Regions from separate parts of the Homo sapiens genome. Here all the other regions are linked to region 1. The links are contacts of gene promoters, found by promoter capture Hi-C in blood cells and fetal thymus (Javierre and others, 2016). All regions are on one chromosome and are shown on one strand. Each heading gives the region's core, a stretch centred on a gene start or on the middle of the fragment in contact. The rest is flanking DNA. Distances are from core to core; before and after follow the strand shown.

Region 1 (2,938 bases), core at 229-2,728:
ACCTCTGCCTCCCGGATTCAAAGGATTCTCCTGCCTCAGCCTCCCAATTCGCTGGGATCACAGGCATGCGCCACCATGCTCGGCTAATTTTTGTATTTTTAATAAAGACAGGTTTTCACCATGTTGGCCAGGCTGGTCTCGATCTCCTGGCCTCAAGTGATGCACCTGCCTCGGCCTCCCAAAGTGCTGGGATTACAGGCGTGAGCCACTGCGCCCGGCCTCATAACCTATAAAGAAATAGATTAGGGTTTCGCCATAAAAACTAAAAAAAAAAAAAAAAAAAAAGGGAAAAGCCACTTTTAAAATATATCATCAAAGGAAGAAAATAAAAATAAAAATAAAATCATCAAAATATTTCACTGAAGCCTTAGGTAGTTGATCAAATACCGAAGGTGAGTGGAAAGCCGTGGGTCTGGTGTAGTCGTCTGGCCCTGGCTGAGACACTAACTTCTCTGTATCTCAGTTTTCTCTACTCTAATCATGGATTTGAAAACATGAACGTGACACTGAGGGGACATCATCCCCAAATGCTCCCAGCCTCTGAACATCCACTTCCATTATGTTTTTAAAATGAGATGAGGAAGCAGCCGTCCTGGCCGTGGCCCTGAGATTCGGTGCTTTTCTCCAGCGGCAAGGCTGCTGCTGACGGCACATCAGCAGTGGCCTCAGCTCTGGGCGATCTTCCAGCTTTGGGAACAACACCTCTGACTGATCCTCAACACTTCCTACTTTCCTGCTTGTGCCCGACAACAGCCCAGGATGGGTCCGGGTGAACCCCAAGGGCTCTCTCAGACACAGAGACCAGGATTTCAGCCTCCTGGGCACCAGGCTGTCAGCTCCTCAGTACATGTTTCTCAACACAGGGATGGGAAATGTACCTTTCGTTCTAGTGCTGAAAGAAAGACGCGCAACTCCGCCCTCCGTTTTTGTTACCAACCTCTGTGCTGCGGAAATAATTACTGGGCTCGAGACTAACATCCCTTATGGAGCTGAGGGTCCCAAAACAAGTCCAGAGAAAGCAAACAATTACTGGTGCAATGACAGGGTTCTATCGCGCTGTGGTGGAAAGAACCCAGACTGTGAAGGCAGGAAACCCGAAACAGTCGGTCGCAGTTGCGCCCTTACCTGAGAGGTGACTGTGGCAAATCCCACAACCTTTAGAATCTCAGGGTCCTCATCTGAAAACACCTCCCCCTCCCAGAGTGGTCATGGGAACTGAATGGGCTGAGGGATGAGAAGGGGCTCTGCCGCCCTCTAACAGACACCCCCCCAACACCTTTGTTCTTCTTAAGCACTACAGTGCTAGTCAGGACTCCTTAGGAAAGACTGTTAACGCTCTGGGTCCCAAAACCTAGCACTAAAGACAACTGAGCAAAGCAAAATCAGAAAATAATTTGAGGAAATGTTCATTAGGATCTGGGTCACCCGGAACCAGTTTCTCTCGCCAAGACCTCCTTCCTGCGGAAGCACCCTCTCTGCGCCACGCTCCATGGAGGCGCCAAGGAGAAGGCCTGGGAAGGGAAGAGTGAACCTTCCCTGGTGGAGGGCCCACTCCTCAGGCAGTGGGGAGACCGCCTTTTGCATGCGACAGGACTTACCAGGTAGCGCTCCTCCTGCCTCATGCTGGGGGTGCGGATCATGTGATTTTGTTCCCCTCTCCAGTCTCCAAAGCGACGGAAAAAATAGTTGGATAAGAACCGGTTGACGGGGTCTCTAATGATGTTGATGTAGACAGGCTGGTCTCCTCCAAACCTAACACAAACATTGAGTTCGTTACAACCCATCACTGCAGGACGAAAACAGGGCCTACTTAGACAACATCTCCCCTTCCCTCTAGGTTAACTTATTGAAAGATGACCTCCTATGCTAAGGTGCCAATGACACGTAATAAGCAAACGGTGTTTCCTGATAAGCATTTTATTATCATGCAGGAAGTGGGGAGGATGATACCTGTTCCAGGTACCTGTTGAGGGGCTGTGAGGACATTTCATAGTATAGCACGGTACAAACCACACCATTGTGCATGTTAAGGAAGAGATGGTGTCTAGTTTTCTCACCAGGCTGTAGGTTTCTTGAGGATGGGGGCCACTCTGTATTGGATTTAGTATTTCCAATGGCTAGAACAGAACCCACAGGGACACAATTGGCCCTCGGTGAATGTTTCAGTTGATTGGTAGGTTCTGACTGCCTTGCTGGGTGAGACGGCACTTCCTCTATATTGTAATTCAAACAGTTCCGGGTCAGGTGCTCTGCAGTAAGGGAGTGAATAACAGCCAGTCTTCACTGAGCACTCGCTATTCACCTTGTTCTAAATACCTCATGTAACCAGCTTGCTGAAGCCCCATAACACGTCAATGGAGTAGAAAAAATAATTATCCTCATTTACACTTGGGGAAACTGAGGCAGGAATAAGGTTCATAACTTGTAGCTGAACTAGGATATGGGTCCAGGCAATCTGGCTCTAGAATCTATGCTCTTAATTATGGAAAAGTGATTTCTGGAGTTGAGGAAATTTTGTGTGGGATATCAAGAATGAAACAAAATTCAACATAATTATCCTCAAGTGATGGCAAGTGGCTTCAGATAAAAATAAAGCAAATAGCCAGGTGTTCCATTTTAATTCCTTCCATGAAAGGATTAGATGAATCCACTAAATCTTGGCCCAAGAACAAGGTCTTCCCGAAGCAGAGTGATGAGATTGGCTGGATTTCTCTTAATGATTCCTTCTTTTTCTCTTTGAACTGCTTGAAAGCAGTAGCCTTGAGGAGTTCGGGGAGAGTGCCCCAGTCTCTGGGCAGAGGGCATGCTCTGGTGACCTCCTGAGGGGCCTGCAGGGTTCTCTAGCCCTATGGCCTCGTGACCTTCTGAGGAATGTGCCTGGACATTCTGTCAGGGGTCAGAAAGAACTAAGAGAAAACAAACTGACAGGACCCCGCTC
Region 2 (2,700 bases), core at 139-2,638, 640 kb before region 1:
ATTACAGGTGTGAACCATCACACCTGGCTAATTTTTGTATTGTTAGTAGAGACGGGGTTTCATCATGTTGGCCAGGCTGGTCTCGAACTACTGACCTAAGGTGATCTGCCTGCCTCTGCCTCCCAAAGTGCTGGGATTACAGGCGTGAGCCACTGAGCCCAGCAAAAGAACTAGTTTTAAACCCAAGGACTTATGTCCTGATTAATCCGTCTATCTGAAACTTTATTTTGAGCATGAAAAAAGGAGTCTAGGTCCCTTTGAATCCCTCAACTGTTTTTTTCCACTTCCTACTGGTTACTGTTTTCACTTAGAACAAGTTATTGTTTGTTTTTATTTGAGATGGAGTCTTGTTCTGTTGCCCAGGCTGGACTGCAGTAGTGCAATCTCAGCTCAGTGTAACCTCCGCCTCCTGGGTTCAAGCGATTCTCCTCTCAGCCTCTTGAGTAGCTGGGACTACAGGCATGTACCACTATGCCCAGCTAATATTTTTGTATTTTTAGTAGAGAGGGGGTTTCACCATGTTGGCCAGCCTGATCTCGAACTCCTGGCCTCAACTGATCCACCCCCCTCAGCCTAAGTGCTAGAATTATAGGCATGAGCCACTGCACCTGGCCAGGAGCAAATTATTAGATAGATGTATATCTAAAAGAAATTGTACTACTTCAACTAATTAAGTAAAATCCTATTAAATATGTCAGCATTTGAAGTTCCACAGCTTTCTTTGGCTGTCCTATTACAACACTGTTTCTTTCTTCTGCCTACTTAAATTTGTTTTGCTTTGTCTGCGAACATTCCCTTAGTACTGTGTTCTATGGGAGAAAAGAAAGAGAAAGAGAAAATGCCTTATATTTGTATCTTCCCTGGCTTACAGTATATGTTCCTGATAGTCAGGTACAGTGTCCTTTTCCTGTTCTCCATAGCTGCTAACACAGAACAGATACTTGTTAAATATCTGTAAATGAGTAACAACTTTATAAATACTTTGAAGAAAAGATTATCTTCTTCTCTTTTAAATGTTACACAGTTCTGGCTGGGTGTGGTGGCTCACCCCTGTAATCCCAGCACTTTGGGAGGCTGAGGTGGGCAAATCACCTGAGGTCAGGAGTTCAAGACCAGCCTAGCTGACATGGTGAAACCCCATCTCTACTAAAAATATAAAAAGTTAGCCAGGCATGGTGGTACATGTCTGTAATCCCAGCTACTCGGAAGGCTGAGGCAGGAGAATTGCTTGAACCGGGGAAGCAGAGGTTGCAGTGAGCCAAGATCGTGCCACTGCACTCCAGCCTGGGCAACAAGAATGAAACTCCATCTCAAAAAAAAAAAAAAAAAAAGTTACACAGTTCCTTCCTTGAATCTTTTATGCTAATATTGGAGGCTCAATACACACATTGTGGAACTGATGCTTATTTGGCCATCTAGGTTAACATTTTGAATATCATAAATATTGGTTAAGTCTGGACATTAATAATGGCATTAGACAGCACCAGTTGGCAAAGGAATCATCATGTTACGTGCAAAAAAAATGTTATGGGAATTGGGTAACAATCTTAGTACGGCAGAAAAAATGTTTATTTACCCTAATGCAGGGCTTCATAAATTTTCTTGGCCTATAATATTCATAAGTATCTTAGTAATTTTTATATAGCATCTCTAGGCCAGGATACCCATCCACTTATGAAAAATACCTATCCATTTATGAAGAAGTTAGGTTCAAACAGTTTATGTTCTAGCAGTTTAACACCTATTGGGCCCTGTTACACAGTTTCTCAAACCCTGCAGTCAGAACGGACATTCTACCCTCATTCCTCTTCCACATTGATTTTCTCTCTGTACATCTTATCACAGCAACTGCCCAAAACCCAGCTTCACAAAAATATGGTATTATTCAGGCCGGACACAGTGGCTCACACCTGTAATCCCAGCACTTTGGGAGGCCGAGGTGGGCGGATCACTTGAGGTCAGCAGTTCAAGACTAGCATGGCCAACGTGCTGAAACCCCATCTCCACTAAAAATAATTAGCCGGGCGTGGTGGTGCACACCTGTCATCCTACTCAGAAGGCTGAGACAGGAGAATTGCTTGAACCCAGGAGGTGGAGGTTGCAATGAGCCAAGATCACACTACTACACTCTAGCCTGGGCGACAGAGTGAGACTCTAGCTCAAAAATAAATAAATAAATAAATAAATAAAGCATTATTGAAGAGGAGTATAGCAGTCTTATGTAGGAATCGTGAACTACCTCTAGCTAGTAGTTCACACAGTGTTCAACAGATGTTGCTGTGTTTCTTTCAAAAATTTAAACTATCCCACAATACCTCGTGAGTTTGCCATTGTGTCCTGGGTATTGAGTACATAGTTTGGGAACCGTGGCCCTAATGACTGTCATCACAGAGGATGAGAGGAATCCCATGTAAGGACTGAGATGTGTCTTTTGGAGGGTAGTGGGAATAATGAAAAGGGATATTTTTAGGAGCATTGATGAGGGACAAGTAGGTGTTTAAAGATTGAGCCATAGTCTTGGCTAAATAAGCCATCTGTCTTTAATCTTATCTCCTCTAAAGGATTGAAATACATTTTGTGTATATCTGATATTCACTTGCGACCACATTTATCTCAGTATTAATTTTTTTATGCTAGCCAGTTCATTTGCATGGTCATTTTTATTTTTCTTTGATACTTTTGATGTATCAAACCAATGTT
Region 3 (2,700 bases), core at 45-2,544, 900 kb before region 1:
CTTTAGAGCTAAGAGGCCATTTCTTTTAGCCTCAAAAATCACTCAAATATACCCCTGCAAAAACTTTATAATTTCTCCCTTTGATGGAATGGCAAGTAACATTGAGCTTTTTTCTTTCTTTTCTATTGCTACCTTTTAATTTTACCTCCTACTCTGATCTGGATCTGCAAGCAATGGGTTCCTAAATGTCAACTCTGGAGATAATAAACACATAGCAGAGACTGATATTTTCCCACCAATTATTTATTCTTTCAATCCTAAAAAATACAGACACTTAACAGTGTTCTATTTACAATGTGCGCATCCAGGCAAAAATTTCCGGACAGGCTAAAAAGCAAGAAAATGCGATCCACAATCAGGAGAAAAATGAATCAACAGAAACTGATTCAGAAACAAACAAGATGCAGATGCTGCTCACAGAAGTCTAGAACGCCAAGGTGAAGCCCCCACTGGGTTGGACATTTTCTTATTCCTTATGTCATTTAAAGCACAACTCCCGAGATTTTACGTGATATAACCGCTAGAGGCCTCTCTGTCACAGGCTGTATTACTCCCAGGTCCCCATGTTGGCTGTGTTCAGATTTTTTGTTATATTTGTGGAAATCTGAGTGCATGTGACGACTGCTATTTATGGGTTTTGTTTTTATTTTTAAAGACAGGGTCTTGTTCTGTCCCCCAGGCTGGAGTACAGTGGTGTGATCACAGCTCATTGCAGTCTCGAACTCCTGGGTCCAAGCCATCCTCCCAACTCAGCCTCAGGACTTACAGGCGAGTACCACCTCACCAGGCTTGATTTTTGTGTTTTTAAACAGACTGAACATCTTTCAGTACTTCCCATCCCCACCCCTCCCGGCCCTGACTCCGCCACCCCAACCCCGCCCCACTTTGTACTACCCAAGCACATCTTGGGAACATGATGCGGAAAGTCAGGGACGCTGGAGGTGAAGGACTGATGACGCGCTACGGTGGTCCTAGGTGCGCGTGCCCCCTCTCTGGAGTAGTCCCGGGGGTCACGAGGATTTGAAGACAGGCCCTCCCTTCCCACTGCCCCCATTCCCCCGAATGCCAAGCCCCTGTGGGCAGGCGCCCTGGGCAGGTGTGGTTGGTTGCTAAAGCCTGCTGGGCCCAGACATGAACCCTGCCCTAGCTGGGCAGCGGCGCGGGAGCAAAGTTGTTCTGAGGCTGCCCTCCCCGGGGCCTGCTCTCCCAGCCCTGGAGGAGCCGGCGCGAGACGCGCGGGGGCGGGGCCGCGCGGGGGGGCGGGGCTCACCAAGGCTCCACCCCGCCGCGGCCACTGTTCGCACACACCTGGTGCTGATCAACGCCGAGGCCGACTCGTCGCCACCCAGCGCGCCGCAGGCCGGGGCGGAGAGGCGCAGGGCGCTGGGCAGTCTCCGGCGAGGGCAAGGAGCGGTGCCCGGCTGGGCCGGCTATGTCTCCCGCTACTGCGGTTCCCGCCGGCGCCCGCGACCTCGGGGGAGCAGCCGGGTTCGGGGGCGCCGCGCTGTGAGGCCGGGGCCTAGAGCCAGCCGCGGCCGCGCAGGAGGGGCCCAGGGCCCGCGCTCGCCCGCGTCCCCGCCTTCCTCCCGCGCTCAGCCCCGCCTCGGCTCGCTGCCCTTGGCTCTCGTCGCCATGGCCTCCGTCGCCCAGGAGAGCGCGGGCTCGCAGCGCCGGCTACCGCCGCGTCACGGGGCGCTGCGCGGGCTGCTACTGCTCTGCCTGTGGCTGCCAAGCGGCCGTGCGGCCTTGCCGCCCGCGGCGCCGCTGTCCGAACTGCACGCGCAGCTGTCGGGCGTGGAGCAGCTGCTGGAGGAGTTCCGCCGGCAACTGCAGCAGGAGCGGCCTCAGGAGGAGCTGGAGCTGGAGCTGCGCGCGGGCGGCGGCCCCCAGGAGGACTGCCCGGGCCCGGGCAGCGGCGGCTACAGCGCAATGCCTGACGCCATCATCCGCACCAAGGACTCCCTGGCGGCGGGTGCCAGCTTCCTGCGGGCGCCGGCGGCCGTGCGGGGCTGGCGGCAATGCGTGGCGGCCTGCTGCTCCGAGCCGCGCTGCTCCGTGGCCGTGGTGGAGCTGCCCCGGCGCCCCGCGCCCCCGGCAGCCGTGCTCGGCTGCTACCTCTTCAACTGCACGGCGCGCGGCCGCAACGTCTGCAAGTTCGCGCTGCACAGCGGCTACAGCAGCTACAGCCTCAGCCGCGCGCCGGACGGCGCCGCCCTGGCCACCGCGCGCGCCTCGCCCCGGCAGGGTAAGCGCGCGACTGAGGGGCCGGCCTTGGCCAGAGCGCTCGAGACCCGCAGCGCCCTCGCCAAGTTGGAAGCGAAACACACTCGTGCCAAGTTATTTTAGCCGCGGGCACCCAGAAGAGTTTCTGGCATGGGTTTCTCTGTCTTAGGGAAGAGGAAGCCCAGTAGTTTGGCAGAAGCGGGCGGGCGGGCGCGGTGACGTGCTACTGGAATTTTTCTAGGCTTGAAGAGAAAGGCTGATCTGAGAGGATTCGTGGAAATATGACTTAAAAGGGGAGAAATGCTGAGAGAAAAAAGTTTGTTTTAGTCTCATGGGTTGTATAAGGCATGGTTTGTGTTAAGTAATTGCAAGAGCAAAATCTAATTAGATGCCGGGCTTCTCGTAACACCCACTCCTTTTTCTTGACGTGGCTCTCCTGACTTTGCCTGCGGTGGCTTTCATCATACAAAAATGGGA
Region 4 (2,700 bases), core at 190-2,689, 560 kb before region 1:
GACAAGCCAGGTGCTTTCAACTTCAGCTTATTGGCCTTTTCACTTGGTTATTATGGTATATTAGTTCTGTAATTAACATTGTGCTTACAGTGTTAAATTTGAGCTTGATTTATATTAAAATTCAAAAATTTCAAAGCTTGAACTTAAACATTTATATATGTATGAGTATGCATACATTATTCTACAGTAATGTTAGATGTTAGATATTCTATAATTCGACTATATTTGGACTAGAAAAGTGTTGTGATTTTAAAAGTCTTTAGCAGTAGTTTACTTTTGCCAAAGGAAAATTAAATATTTTTATTCTTACTTCAGTGCTTAAGGGAATTTAGGACTGTAGGCCTATATAAGGCACTTAGAGTAGAATTTAGATAATTTAGTTACTGCTCTGGTGAACTACTTTTAAAAAAGAATTGTTATTAAATGAATTTGGAAAAATAATCTATGAATTTAACTTTGCCTTGTAGTAACTGACTTATTTCTTCTTCAGTTTTGAAGAGTGAGAGTGAATGCTTTCTTCCTTTTTTTTTTTTTTAAGTCACTTTTAAATACTTTCTTTCAGTTGTGAAGTTATCCGAGACTGGAAGACAGGAGAGTCCCTCTGTTACGCTTTTATTGAATTTGAAAAGGTATGTCATAATACAGACATAAGTTTGGTATTTATTTGCTTTTATATGGTATTAAAATGTGAAAAATTATAGAACTTTTTCTAGTTTCTAGAGTTGCCCTTTCTTTTGGCACTCCCCAAAATTAAGTTTATTGTATCTATATAGGGGATAAGTTCAACATCTGTTGATGTTAACATACGTACTTTTACTTTAGGTTCAGGTGCAATCTGCATGAAAGTATCTTTAGAACTTTTTTTTTTTTTGAGACAGGGTCTCACTCTGTTGCCCAGGCTGGAGTGCAGTGGCGCAGTCTCGACTCACTGCAGCCTCCGCCTCCTGGTTCAAGCGATTCTCTTGCCTCAGCCTCCCCAGTAGCTGGGATTACAGGTGCCCACCACCATGCCCTGCTAATTTTTTTGTATTTTTAGTAGAGACAGGGTTTCACCATATTGGCCAGGCTGGTCTTGAACTCCTGACCTCAAGCAATCCACCTGCCTCGGCCTCCCAAAGTGCTGGGATTATAGGCATAAGCCACAACACTCAGCCAATCTTAGAACTTTTTAAGTTCTAAGTAAAGCCCTTCAGAGACTCTTAATTTTTCCCTGTTACTTAAGTGGAGATAAAGTTGAGTAATAGAAAGAGAACTGAACTGGGTGTTAAGATTTAGATATTAATACATCTTTTGTTATTAGCCAGCTATTGTATGATACTTGGCAGTTTAGTTAACCGTTCTTTCTAGGTCTTACCTTCTTATAAATAAAACTTGGGTATTAGAATAGATGGCCCCTTCTAGAGCTGTAATAATGATAGCTTATGTTGCTTAAATATTTACTTTAAGCTAGGCATTATGTTACTTTTGCTGCATTTAATCCTCACAGTTCTGTAAGATAGGGACCATCCCCTTTTCCAAATAAGTTAACTGAGACACATAATGCTAATGTGACTTGTTCAAAATCACACACCTAGTGAATGAATGTCATAGCTGGGATTTGAACTCAGATATGTCTGATTCTGTTCCCATTGAGTTTACACTGTGCTATGGTATGCTCTTTTTTAATGCAACTTTGGACTCATATGTATCCAGTAGTAGCTCATTCTAAGTTCTAATTATTACAAAGCATTTATGGAATACCTTTTATGTTTTCAGACACAGCAATAAGGCCTAGGGATACAAGATGAATCATGGAGGGTTGGGGAAGATAGACCATAAAGTTATATGTAGGCACTGTGTCAGATGTACCAGAAATGATACTTACAAGGTACATTGGTGCCAGCAGAAAGACCTTTACCTTTGGTTTGCTGTGAAAACTTGTAGACCTGCACTAGCATTCTATCATTGACACTATAGAATCTATTATTTATTTTCTCACAAATAAAATTTCATTTGTAGCACATAGACTAATGACTGCCCATGTTTTGAGTTTTTTGCAGCTATGCCATTTTCTTCTTTTTTTTTTTTCTTTTTATTTTTTTGAAACAGAGTTTTGCTTTGTCACCCAGGCTGGAGTGTAGTCGCATGATCTCAGCTCACTGCAACCTCCGCCTCCCAGTTTCAAGCGATTCTCATGCCTCAGCATCCCAAGTAGCTGGGATTACAGGTGCTTGCCACCACACCTGGCTCATTTTTGAATTTTTAGTAGATACAGGGTTTTATGATGTTGGCCAGGCTGGTCTTGAACTCTTGACCTTAAGTGATCCACCTGCCTTGGCCTCCCAAAGTGCTGGAATTATAGGCTTGAGCCACTGCACCTGCTGTTTTACTTTTTTATTGATCTCTAAGGATTCTTTATATTTTCTGGATGCAAGCTCTTTTTTGATTATGTGTGATACAGATATCTTCTCTGTGGATTTCCTTTTACTTTTTTTTTGTTTTTTAAGGGACAGGATCACTCTGTGTTGCCCAGGCTGGACTTGAGCTCATGGGCTCAAGTGATTCTCCAATTTTAGCTCCTGCATAACTGGGACCACAGGCATGCCTTTTTCCTTTCTTAATGGTGTCTTTTTATAAACAAATTTCTAATTTTAATGGTTCAGGTTGTCAGTATTTTTCTTCCTTTTTAGTGGCCTATTTAAAAAATATTTTCCTACTTCA

Evidence for each region. Contacts are between HindIII fragments. The CHiCAGO score rates a contact against its expected background, and 5 or more counts as called.
Region 2: a fragment that was not itself captured here is called in contact with the fragment with the promoter of UST-AS1 in region 1 in 1 of 17 cell types (activated CD4 T cells); the score reaches 5.4 in activated CD4 T cells.
Region 3: a contact is called between the fragment with the promoter of LRP11 here and the fragment with the promoter of UST-AS1 in region 1, in 4 of 17 cell types (naive CD4 T cells, activated CD4 T cells, naive CD8 T cells and 1 more). The highest score is 7.0, in naive CD4 T cells.
Region 4: a fragment that was not itself captured here is called in contact with the fragment with the promoter of UST-AS1 in region 1 in 1 of 17 cell types (total B cells); the score reaches 5.5 in total B cells.

Annotation. Positions count from the first base shown.
Region 1 is chr6:148,963,224-148,966,161 of GRCh38, reverse strand. It overlaps UST-AS1 (UST antisense RNA 1), which reads left to right and starts at 1,478. Exons shown (of 3, transcript NR_038408.1): 1 at 1,478-1,601. UST (uronyl 2-sulfotransferase) reads right to left here. Exons shown (of 8, transcript NM_005715.3): 5 at 1,599-1,752. RefSeq lists enhancers at 1,437-2,013, 2,014-2,590. The HindIII fragment of the contact is 7,762 bases long and covers 1-2,938 here.
Region 2 is chr6:149,605,248-149,607,947 of GRCh38, reverse strand. All of the region lies in intron 4 of KATNA1 (katanin catalytic subunit A1), which reads left to right. Among named protein-coding and RNA genes, the nearest start is that of GINM1, 40 kb to the right of the region's middle. The HindIII fragment of the contact is 3,717 bases long and covers 1-2,700 here.
Region 3 is chr6:149,862,953-149,865,652 of GRCh38, reverse strand. It overlaps LRP11 (LDL receptor related protein 11), which reads left to right and starts at 1,294. Exons shown (of 7, transcript NM_032832.6): 1 at 1,294-2,245. The coding sequence starts at 1,633. It overlaps RAET1E-LRP11 (RAET1E-LRP11 readthrough), which reads left to right. Exons shown (of 15, transcript NR_182438.1): 8 at 309-437; 9 at 656-768. RAET1E-AS1 (RAET1E antisense RNA 1) reads right to left here and starts at 2,155. Exons shown (of 2, transcript NR_045126.1): 1 at 1,271-2,155. RefSeq lists an enhancer at 983-1,483 and silencers at 1,140-1,589, 1,660-1,719, 1,860-1,969, 2,140-2,289. The HindIII fragment of the contact is 13,305 bases long and covers 1-2,700 here.
Region 4 is chr6:149,523,072-149,525,771 of GRCh38, reverse strand. PPIL4 (peptidylprolyl isomerase like 4) reads left to right here. Exons shown (of 13, transcript NM_139126.4): 9 at 563-629. Among named protein-coding and RNA genes, the nearest start is that of PPIL4, 22 kb to the left of the region's middle. The HindIII fragment of the contact is 2,601 bases long and covers 139-2,700 here.